Linked DNA regions of Homo sapiens: region 1 is linked to region 2. The links are contacts of gene promoters, found by promoter capture Hi-C in human tissues and cell types (Jung and others, 2019). All regions are on one chromosome and are shown on one strand. The core of a region is centred on a gene start or on the middle of the fragment in contact, and the rest is flanking DNA. Distances in the headings are between cores, read along the strand shown.

Region 1 (4,333 bases), core at 1,779-4,278, 44 kb before region 2:
GAAAAAAGAAAGAAAGAAAATAAAGGAATAAAAGAATGGCTACTCCACAGGGAGAACAGCCCCCAACGGCTGCTGTTGTCCATTTTTATAGCTGTTTCTTGATTATATGCTAAACAAGGGGTGGATTATTCATCAGTTTTCCAGGAAAGGGGTGGGCAATTCTTAGAACTGGGGGTTCCTTCTTGTTTTAGACCATATAGGGTAACTTCCTGGCATTGCCATGGCATCTGTAAACTGTCATGGTGCTGGTGGGAGTGTCTTTAGCATGCTAATACATTATAATTAGCATGTAATGAGCAGTGAGGATGACCAGAGGTAGCTTTTATCCCCATCTTGGTTTTGATGGGATTTGGCCGGCTTCTGCACTGCATGCTGTCTTATCACCAAGGTCTTTATGACCTGTATCTTGGGCTGACCTATCTTATCCTGTAACTTAGAATACCAGACTTACTAGGAATGCAGCCTAGTAGGTCTCAGCCTTTTTTTATTTAAACAGCCCTTATACAAGATGGAGTCACTCTGGTTTAAATGCCTCTGACAATAAGAATAATGTTCACTATAAGTCTGCTGTAAATGTACTTTATCAAATTGAGGAATTTTCCTTCTATTCTTAGTTTTTTAATTTCTTTTTTGTCATAAAAAACATGACTTTGCCAAATGCGTTTCTGTGTCTATTACAATGATCTTGTGGGCTGGGTTGTAGGGATGGCGGAGAAATGGGGAGACGTTGGGCAAAGGCTATGAAGTTTCAGGTAGACTGGATGGAAAAGTTCTAAAGAGCTATTGTATAGCATAGTGACTACAGGTAATAATACTGTGTTGTATTCTCAATGAAAAGAGTCAGGCGCCTGCCTGTAATCTCAGCTACTCAGGATTGCTAAGGCAGGAGAATCGCTTCAACCCGGGAGGTGGAGGTTTCAGTGAGCCGCGATCGCGCCACTGCACTCCAGCCTGGGTGACAGAGTAAGACTCCTTCTCAAAAAAAAAAAAAAAAAAAAAAATGGAGTTCGTAAGTTCATTTTGAATGAATACCTGGCATGTAGAAGGTGCTTAAACAAAGAGCAGATAACATTTAAAAAGCATCAGGAATATTCTTATAGGATGTAGATTTTCAGATCCAAATGCCAGCAGTTCATTCTGGTCGATGAGAGGAAAATATTTTGCATTGAGGCTATCCCAGGAAAGCAAGGACACAAGGCCACGGGGAGCAACCAAGGACCATGACAACTTCTGAGAAAAATAAGTTTTTAAAGAGAAGCCCCTGCCATTTGGAAGCTAACGGGCACTCACAGCCTGCTGGACATAAGCAGCCCCGCAGAATACAGCCCTGGACAGGGCTACTCGGAGGCCGAGATTAAATTAGACCACGCGAGGCCACTTCGTCACTGCACCGAAGCAGGGGTGGAAGCAAGCTCACTGCACCAGCCACAAAGCACCAGACATCCCACCCAGACAAAACCAGTGGCTGTTACTTCTTCACCAATGACAGCTTTAAAAAGCCGCTCCTGCCAGTCACGGTGGCTCACGCCTGTAATCCCAACACTTTGGGAGGCGAAGGTGGGCGGATCACCTGAGGTCAGGAGTTCAAGACCAGCCTGGCCAACATAGTGAAACCCCGTCTCTACTAAAAACACAACAAATTAGCTGGGCGTGGTGGCAGGAAGTCAGGGACCCTGAATGGAGGGAACAGCTGGAGCTGCAGCAGAGGAACATAAATTGTGAAGATTTCATGGACATTTATCAGTTCCCAAAATTAATACTTTTATAATTTCTTACGCCGGTCTTTACTGCAATCTCTGAACATAAATTGTGAAGATTTCATGGACATTTATCAGTTCCAAAATAATACTTTTATAATTTCTTATGCCTGTCTTTATTTATTTATTTATTTATTTATTTATTTATTTTTTTTTCTTTTGAGACGGAGTCTTGCTCTGTCTCCCAGGCTGGAGTGCAGTGGTGCGATCTCAGCTCACTGCAAGCTCCGCCTCCCGGGTTCACGCCATTCTCCTGCCTCAGCCTCCCGAGTAGCTGGGACTACAGGCGCCCGCCACCACGCCCGGCTAATTTTTTGTATTTTTAGTAGAGACGGGGTTTCACCATGTTGGCCGGGATGGTCTCGATCTCCTGACCTCGTGATCCGCCCGCCTCGGCCTCCCAAAGTGCTGGAATTACAGGCGTGAGCCGCCGTGCCCGGCCGAAAGAAACCTTTCTTTTACACCAGCCTTCCAGGGCTAGGAAAGTCTTCTGAAAATCCCGGTACAAAGAAATCTGCACAAAGATAAGCCTCCATGTATTATTAACTGTAATAACTTTGGTCCTGGTGCAGGAAGAACCAAGAAGATCAATGGAGTGGAACTGAATCAATAAAGAGACTCGAATGTGTTTGGGAATTGAGCACATGGTAATGGCGGCGTTTCAGTGGAGAGAACAGAGTTACCTGTGTAATAGAAAACCAAGTCAAAAGGAAGAAAAATTAATGGTGGAGATAATTTTGTTTTTACCCAAAAATAAAAAATAAAAGCCGGGCACGGTGTCTCATGCCTGTAATCCCAGCACTTTGGGAGGCTGAGGTGGGCGGATCACCTGAGGTCAGGAGTTCAAGACCATCCCGGCCAACATGGTGAAACCCCATCTCTACTAAAAATACAAAAAATTAGCCGGGCATGGTGGCGGGCGCCTGTAGTCCCAGCTACTTGGGAGGCTGAGGCAGGAGAATTGCAGTGAGCTGAGATCGTGCCACTGCACTCCAGCCTGGACGACAGAGCAAGACCCTGTCTCAAAAAAATAAAATAAAATAAAAATAAAAAATAAAAAAATAAGGAAAGTGGGACTGCATGGGACTGGAGGGAGAGAGGTGGGTTAGAGCAAGTTTGGTTTTTTCCCTTTCCCTTGGTCAGCAAACTACCCTCAGGCCAAATCCAGCCTGCAACCTATTTCTCTCCAGCCCAGCGAGCTAAGAACATTTTTTACTGGTTAAAAAAATAAAAAGAATAATATTTCATGACATGTAAAAATTAGATGAAATTCAAATGTTGGTGTCTGTGAGTCAAGTCCCATTGGCACACATGTCCCATTGGCACACGGCGCCTCCCTCTCATTATGTGTCACCTTTACTGGCTTTGGCACCAAAAGGGCAGACGTGGGTACTTCCGACAAAACTGAAAAGATTCTGTACGTGGCCCTTGCAGAGAAAGCTTGCAGACCCCTGCTTTAGAGAGAGGAGGTATGAGAGTTTAGGCTTTGGTGTGGGTGGCTGGGGAGATCCCCTGGTTCAGGAAATGGTGATTCCAAGGGAAGTTGCTGTCTGGGTGCTGGTGCTGTCCTCCTCCTCTGTCCACCCCATATCTAATGCATTCTGAGCGCTCGCTGGGCAGTCAGTGCAGGGCGGGACAACAGTCACGTGTTGCTTCCCAAGACATACAGTCACGGGCCCCTTAACAACAAGGATGCATTCTGGGAAATGGTGATTAGGTGGCTCTTGGAAGGTGCACCTCATTTACCCCTAGGCTGGGTGGCATAGCCCATCGCTCCCACGAGTGACGTCTGTGCTACGACAGTACCACGGCTATGACATCCCTAGGCCATAGGAATTCTTCAGCTCCATCATAGTCATGGGACCACTGTCATGCACGTGTCCCTCCTTGCCTGGAAGGTTGCTGTGCAGCGCATGACGGCACTTCCATGTCAGCGGGTGCCTCGCTGGCCCATCTCCTGCCCCTGCTCACTCTGTCTGCCACCTTCCAGCAGCTCCCTGCCCTAAAGCCATCCTGATGCTGCTTTTCCGCCATTTCTTCCTCTGTGCATGTTACCCCAAACTCCACAGGGACTGCTGCTTGCTTGACATGCATTCTGGAACCTTCTGGGATCCTGTCCCAGTGCTCCCAAGGAGAAGCGGCAAGCAAGGGCCAACTCAGCCCAGGGCTGCCTCTGTCCAGGCCCTCTGTCCAGGTCGACAGGCATCTTCCCCTCCCCAGGGGGAGTGCAGGCTCCAGATGAGTTTCTGTCTCCCCAGCTGAGAACCTTTGTCTTGGTTCGGGTTGCTGTAACACAATACCATATGCCAGGCTGCTCAAACAATGACATTGATTTCTCACAGTTTCGCAGGCTGGAAGTCTAGATCAGGGTGCAGCACACTGCAGTTCTTGGTAAGGATCCTCTTCCTGATTTCTGCCCAGCTGCCTTCTCACTGTATCCCCACGAGAGAGGGAGAGGAACCAGCTCTCAGTCTCAGTTCTGTCTCCCTGTGAATCTGAGAGTGTGCTGAGGCCAGGAACCTTTGTCCCCTTAGCACCTAGACAGGATGTGGGACAGGAGTTAGGCACATAAATAA
Region 2 (4,536 bases), core at 877-3,376:
AAAAGAAAGAAAGAAAGAGAAGAAAAAAAGAAAAAAGGCCTATATTTGCAGGACTAATTTCGAGGCCATCCTGGGCTCAAGCGATCCTCCCGCCTTGGCTTACCCAAAGTATTGGGATTACAGGCATAAGCCACCGCGGCGCATGGCCCGTTTTTATCTCTATTTATGTATGGGGGAAACGTGGAGGCTGGTATTTGTGGGGCAACATCTCACAAAAATAGACTCTTAAAGTCAAGAGCATAAAAAAGAATATACGGAAGACAAGTGTCTCATATGACACAAAGCATCTTTCTTGACAGGGAGTCGAAAGCAGGTCGTAGCGAGACAAAGGCGGAAGCCTAACCACTAAATCTCCCAGTAAAGTGGGAGTGAATCAGATAGGTTTTGACGCTCACGAACGCCTGGGGTCGTCCTGCGGTCTCACCCCAGTTTCGATAAACCACATTGTTCCCTCCAGCACAGCAAGTCTCACAGCAAGACGGGGGCAGGCCGTCTGGTAAACATAAAATGCCTAATATGTGCTGCCCGTGGGCGAGTGGCCTACAGCAAAGGGTCATGCATGCACGATAGCCCGCGGTGCTGGCCTGCAGGAATTGGTCCACAGGTACCCGCCTCTCATTCTTTCTTTGAGAGTTAGCGAGGGTGCAAACGTTGTGAGAATTCTGCTCGGGGCCTTCCACACACGGATCGGAGAACACCAGGTTAGTCCAAGTTCTAACACCCACTGTTGGTGAATCTGCTACCCACTAGGTCTTGGTACAGAGAATACCATTTGTGCACTTAGGTAACACAACTTGCCTTAACCTTTCCAAAAAGCGAAATTACGCCCAACGTGGGGCTCGAACCCACGACCCTGAGATTAAGAGTCTCATGCTCTACCGACTGAGCTAGCCGGGCGGCCATGTCTGTATTCTAACTTTGTCTCTGAAGATGGAGGTTACCCTCAGAGGTGTAAGCACGTTTCCACTGTGCAAATACTAAGAAGCGCCTGCGCCTGGCTCTGTTCTAGGCACTAGAGCCGAGGATCTGAAATCTACGGATTCCTGTACATGTGATGGCTGCATAGGCTTCAGAAGGGAAGAGCAAGAGATTAGGTGAGGGGCGAGACCTGAATTTACTTGAGTAGTGCTCTCCTTCAGTTTTGCCCCAGTCCGTGTTCCTCCGAAGCGCAGGGACACACATGTCCTTCCTGCCACGTAAGGCCGGCCTCGGGAGAGAATCTCCCGAACAGACCAAAACGTGTTTCCGCCCGGTTTCGAACCGGGGACCTTTCGCGTGTGAGGCGAACGTGATAACCACTACACTACGGAAACCACCTTGGCTACTTTCCTGCCGGCATCGTCCTGAAGACACACACGGCTGAGACGGCCGGGATAGCTCTAGGCAAGCGCCCTTGTAGGACAGGCCCGGGGACCCCTGCCGCGGCCGGCTGAGCGGTGTCCAGGTTCTGGAGCCGGACTTGTCCACCGCAGCCGAGTCCGCAGGTCCTGTAATGGCCTAGCATAGTTCACCCACGAGGGTTCGTGGTTTTTGGCGCGTTTGATCTGACATACTCAGAGGCCTGACCACCCCCCTAGGAAGCGCGACGTCCATCTGGAGTTTTCCCGCGAGCCGCCTTGAGAGCAGGGTAAGTTCTGCAGGCCCAGCCCTGGCGTCACGCTGTGTCTGGCACTCACTGGAGATTCTGTACATAAATCATGGCCCCGTCATTTTTCTCGCATCAAACAACATTTATTTATTTATGTATCGACATCAAATCTCTATAAAAATAAAATTTAAAGAGCTATTTAAGCATCAAGTATTATTTCTACCGCACAAAGCATCTATTTTTGCAGAGATGCTGTGAGAATGTAGATGTAATGATTCGTCACCACTTCTTCACTGCTGGGCAGTTAGGGAAGTTCATCTAAACCATGAGACAGTGTCCGGTTGGCAGTTTCTACCTCGGATGCGAAACGCCGACTACAGTTGGGGAAGGGTGGGGCGTCTGCTGCCCTAACCCGCGAAGCGCTTTCTCAGGCCCCGCCCCCGGTCCGACCCGGACGACCCTCTGAGTCCTCCACAACGAAGTCGTCTGCCTAGAAGGGCCGGAAGTACTTCAGGGCGCGCCGCGGACCCACCCCCTCGCTTCCGGCATCGGCTGTGGGGAGTACCGGCTGCAGTCGGCTGTGCCGGGAGGGTAGGATGGCGTCTGGCCGATGCGGTGATAGCACCGAAAGCAGACGGCCGCCAGGCGCTCCCCCTACCCCCCGAAGTTTCTCCCCAGCGGCGGGGGATGGGGGTAGGCGGTTCCTCTGTTCTTTCTGCGTTCCCCGCGGCCTCTTACCACAGAGACGCGGGCCTCCACCGTCCTAGCCCTCCCGCCCTGTTCTCTAGTGCGGACTAGAGCGTCTCCTCGCCATTTCCTGTCGCCCTGGGGCCCCGCGGGGAAAAAGGGGGAGTAGCAGGACAGCGGAGGGAAGTCGCGAGCTTAGGTGGTGTGTAGACGCCGGAAGTGTTGGGAAGGAGGCCGGAAGCTAGGGGCGGGGCCAGGAAGTGAGGAGGGGCGGGGGTTTATGAGGAGTCCAAGGGAGCATTGGGGCAGACTTGTACTCAGAGCCACCTGAGGGACTTGGCGGTGGCGCCCAGCACTGTCCCCTCCCCTCGTAGAGACACGGTTGTCGTTTGGGAGTAGGGAACACTGTGTTGGGGTGGGTTGTCGGCAGGACATCTCTCTGGCTGCTCTTGGGGCGAGGTGTGGAGGGGCAGGGCTGGGGGTGGAGCCGGGTCGCCAGGGCGTCGGTAGGGAAGACCCCCGCCCCTCGCCCCCCCACCGAACCTCTACACTGGCTGGCTGGACACTAAGATGGCTGCCGTTGCCATGACACCCAACCCTGTGCAGACCCTTCAGGAGGAGGCGGTGTGCGCCATCTGCCTCGATTACTTCACGGACCCCGTGTCCATCGGCTGCGGGCACAACTTCTGCCGAGTTTGTGTAACCCAGTTGTGGGGTGGGGAGGATGAGGAGGACAGAGATGAGTTAGATCGGGAGGAGGAGGAGGAGGACGGAGAGGAGGAGGAAGTGGAGGCTGTGGGGGCTGGCGCGGGGTGGGACACCCCCATGCGGGATGAAGACTACGAGGGTGACATGGAGGAGGAGGTCGAGGAGGAAGAAGAGGGTGTGTTCTGGACCAGTGGCATGAGCAGGTCCAGCTGGGACAACATGGACTATGTGTGGGAGGAGGAGGACGAGGAGGAAGACCTGGACTACTACTTGGGGGACATGGAGGAGGAGGACCTGAGGGGGGAGGATGAGGAGGACGAGGAGGAAGTGCTGGAGGAGGTTGAGGAAGAGGATCTAGACCCCGTCACCCCACTGCCCCCGCCTCCAGCCCCTCGGAGGTGCTTCACATGCCCTCAGTGCCGAAAGAGCTTTCCTCGGCGGAGCTTCCGCCCCAACCTGCAGCTGGCCAATATGGTCCAGGTGATTCGGCAGATGCACCCAACCCCTGGTCGAGGGAGCCGCGTGACCGATCAGGGCATCTGTCCCAAACACCAAGAAGCCCTGAAGCTCTTCTGCGAGGTAGACGAAGAGGCCATCTGTGTGGTGTGCCGAGAATCCAGGAGCCACAAACAGCACAGCGTGGTGCCATTGGAGGAGGTGGTGCAGGAGTACAAGGTGAGAGAAGTACAGAGAGAAGATGGGAGTTTAGTGGGGGGATGGAGAGGAAGTAAGGGGACCTGGGAAAAGGAAACATCTCTTCACCCACCAAAGAACCTCATGGTATTGGTGAGCCAAGTTTGCTTATCTAAGCACTTACTGCCACCAAGGTGGATTAGAATGAGAAGGATTCTGTACACAGAGCAGATGCAGTGAAGACGACCAGGGAAGGATGGCTTCCTCAAAGCAAATAGAGCAAAGCCGGTGATGCCAGATCAGGTCTCTAGGGCTTTACCAGAAGTCTCGTTTTCTTTCGGGTGAGTCTTAAGTCTGTCCTTGACGGAGACACCTAGAGATGGAAAGAACTGGGGGCTTCAAAGGACAAGAAAAGGCTCAGAAGCAGGAACACAGAGATAACTGCTAGTGTCAGTGTCAGACCCAAATGCTCTGCACTTGCCTCCCAGTGGGTTCCCCACCTACCACGATATGGCTTGGTTCTGTCTTCAAGGACTTTGGTTGGCTCTGTGTCATTCTTATGCACTGACTAGAAAGCAGGAGCTTTTCAGTCAGAAGACCTGGCTCTGCAAGTTGCATTGTCAAATCTTGATTAAGTCTGTGAGTGTCTTTGGACTTTAATTTGTCCAGGATTGATAGTTAATATTCACTGGACATTTATATGTATACCAGGCACTGTACTAGGCACTTTTCATGGACTGTCTCGTTAAAACCCAGACAACACTGAGTTTGATATGTTTTCCATTCCCATTTTATAGATTGGGAAACAAAGTCAGAGAGGCTTTAAGTACCATACAGAGGGCCACAGAGCTTCAGTAATAATTGACTTAGTTATTTACTGTCCCTTCCCCTGGTGTATACTAACAACGCCACCACCATTT

The links. Contacts are between HindIII fragments. The study calls those that stand out against the background at their distance.
Region 1: a contact is called between a fragment that was not itself captured here and the fragment with the promoter of TRIM41 in region 2, in 1 of the 25 tissues and cell types used here (lymphoblastoid cells).

The regions. Positions count from the first base shown.
Region 1 is chr5:181,176,268-181,180,600 of GRCh38, forward strand. No RefSeq gene overlaps it. Among named protein-coding and RNA genes, the nearest start is that of TRL-AAG1-3, 4.3 kb to the left of the region's middle. The HindIII fragment of the contact is 3,593 bases long and covers 1,233-4,333 here.
Region 2 is chr5:181,221,155-181,225,690 of GRCh38, forward strand. It overlaps TRIM41 (tripartite motif containing 41), which reads left to right and starts at 2,127. Exons shown (of 6, transcript NM_033549.5): 1 at 2,127-3,658. The coding sequence starts at 2,846. It overlaps TRK-CTT2-3 (tRNA-Lys (anticodon CTT) 2-3), which reads right to left and starts at 897; the gene lies at 825-897. It overlaps TRV-CAC1-5 (tRNA-Val (anticodon CAC) 1-5), which reads right to left and starts at 1,313; the gene lies at 1,241-1,313. MIR4638 (microRNA 4638) reads right to left here and starts at 1,479; the gene lies at 1,412-1,479. RefSeq lists silencers at 706-915, 1,166-1,395, 2,666-2,875 and enhancers at 2,126-2,355, 3,023-4,020. The HindIII fragment of the contact is 24,392 bases long and covers 1-4,536 here.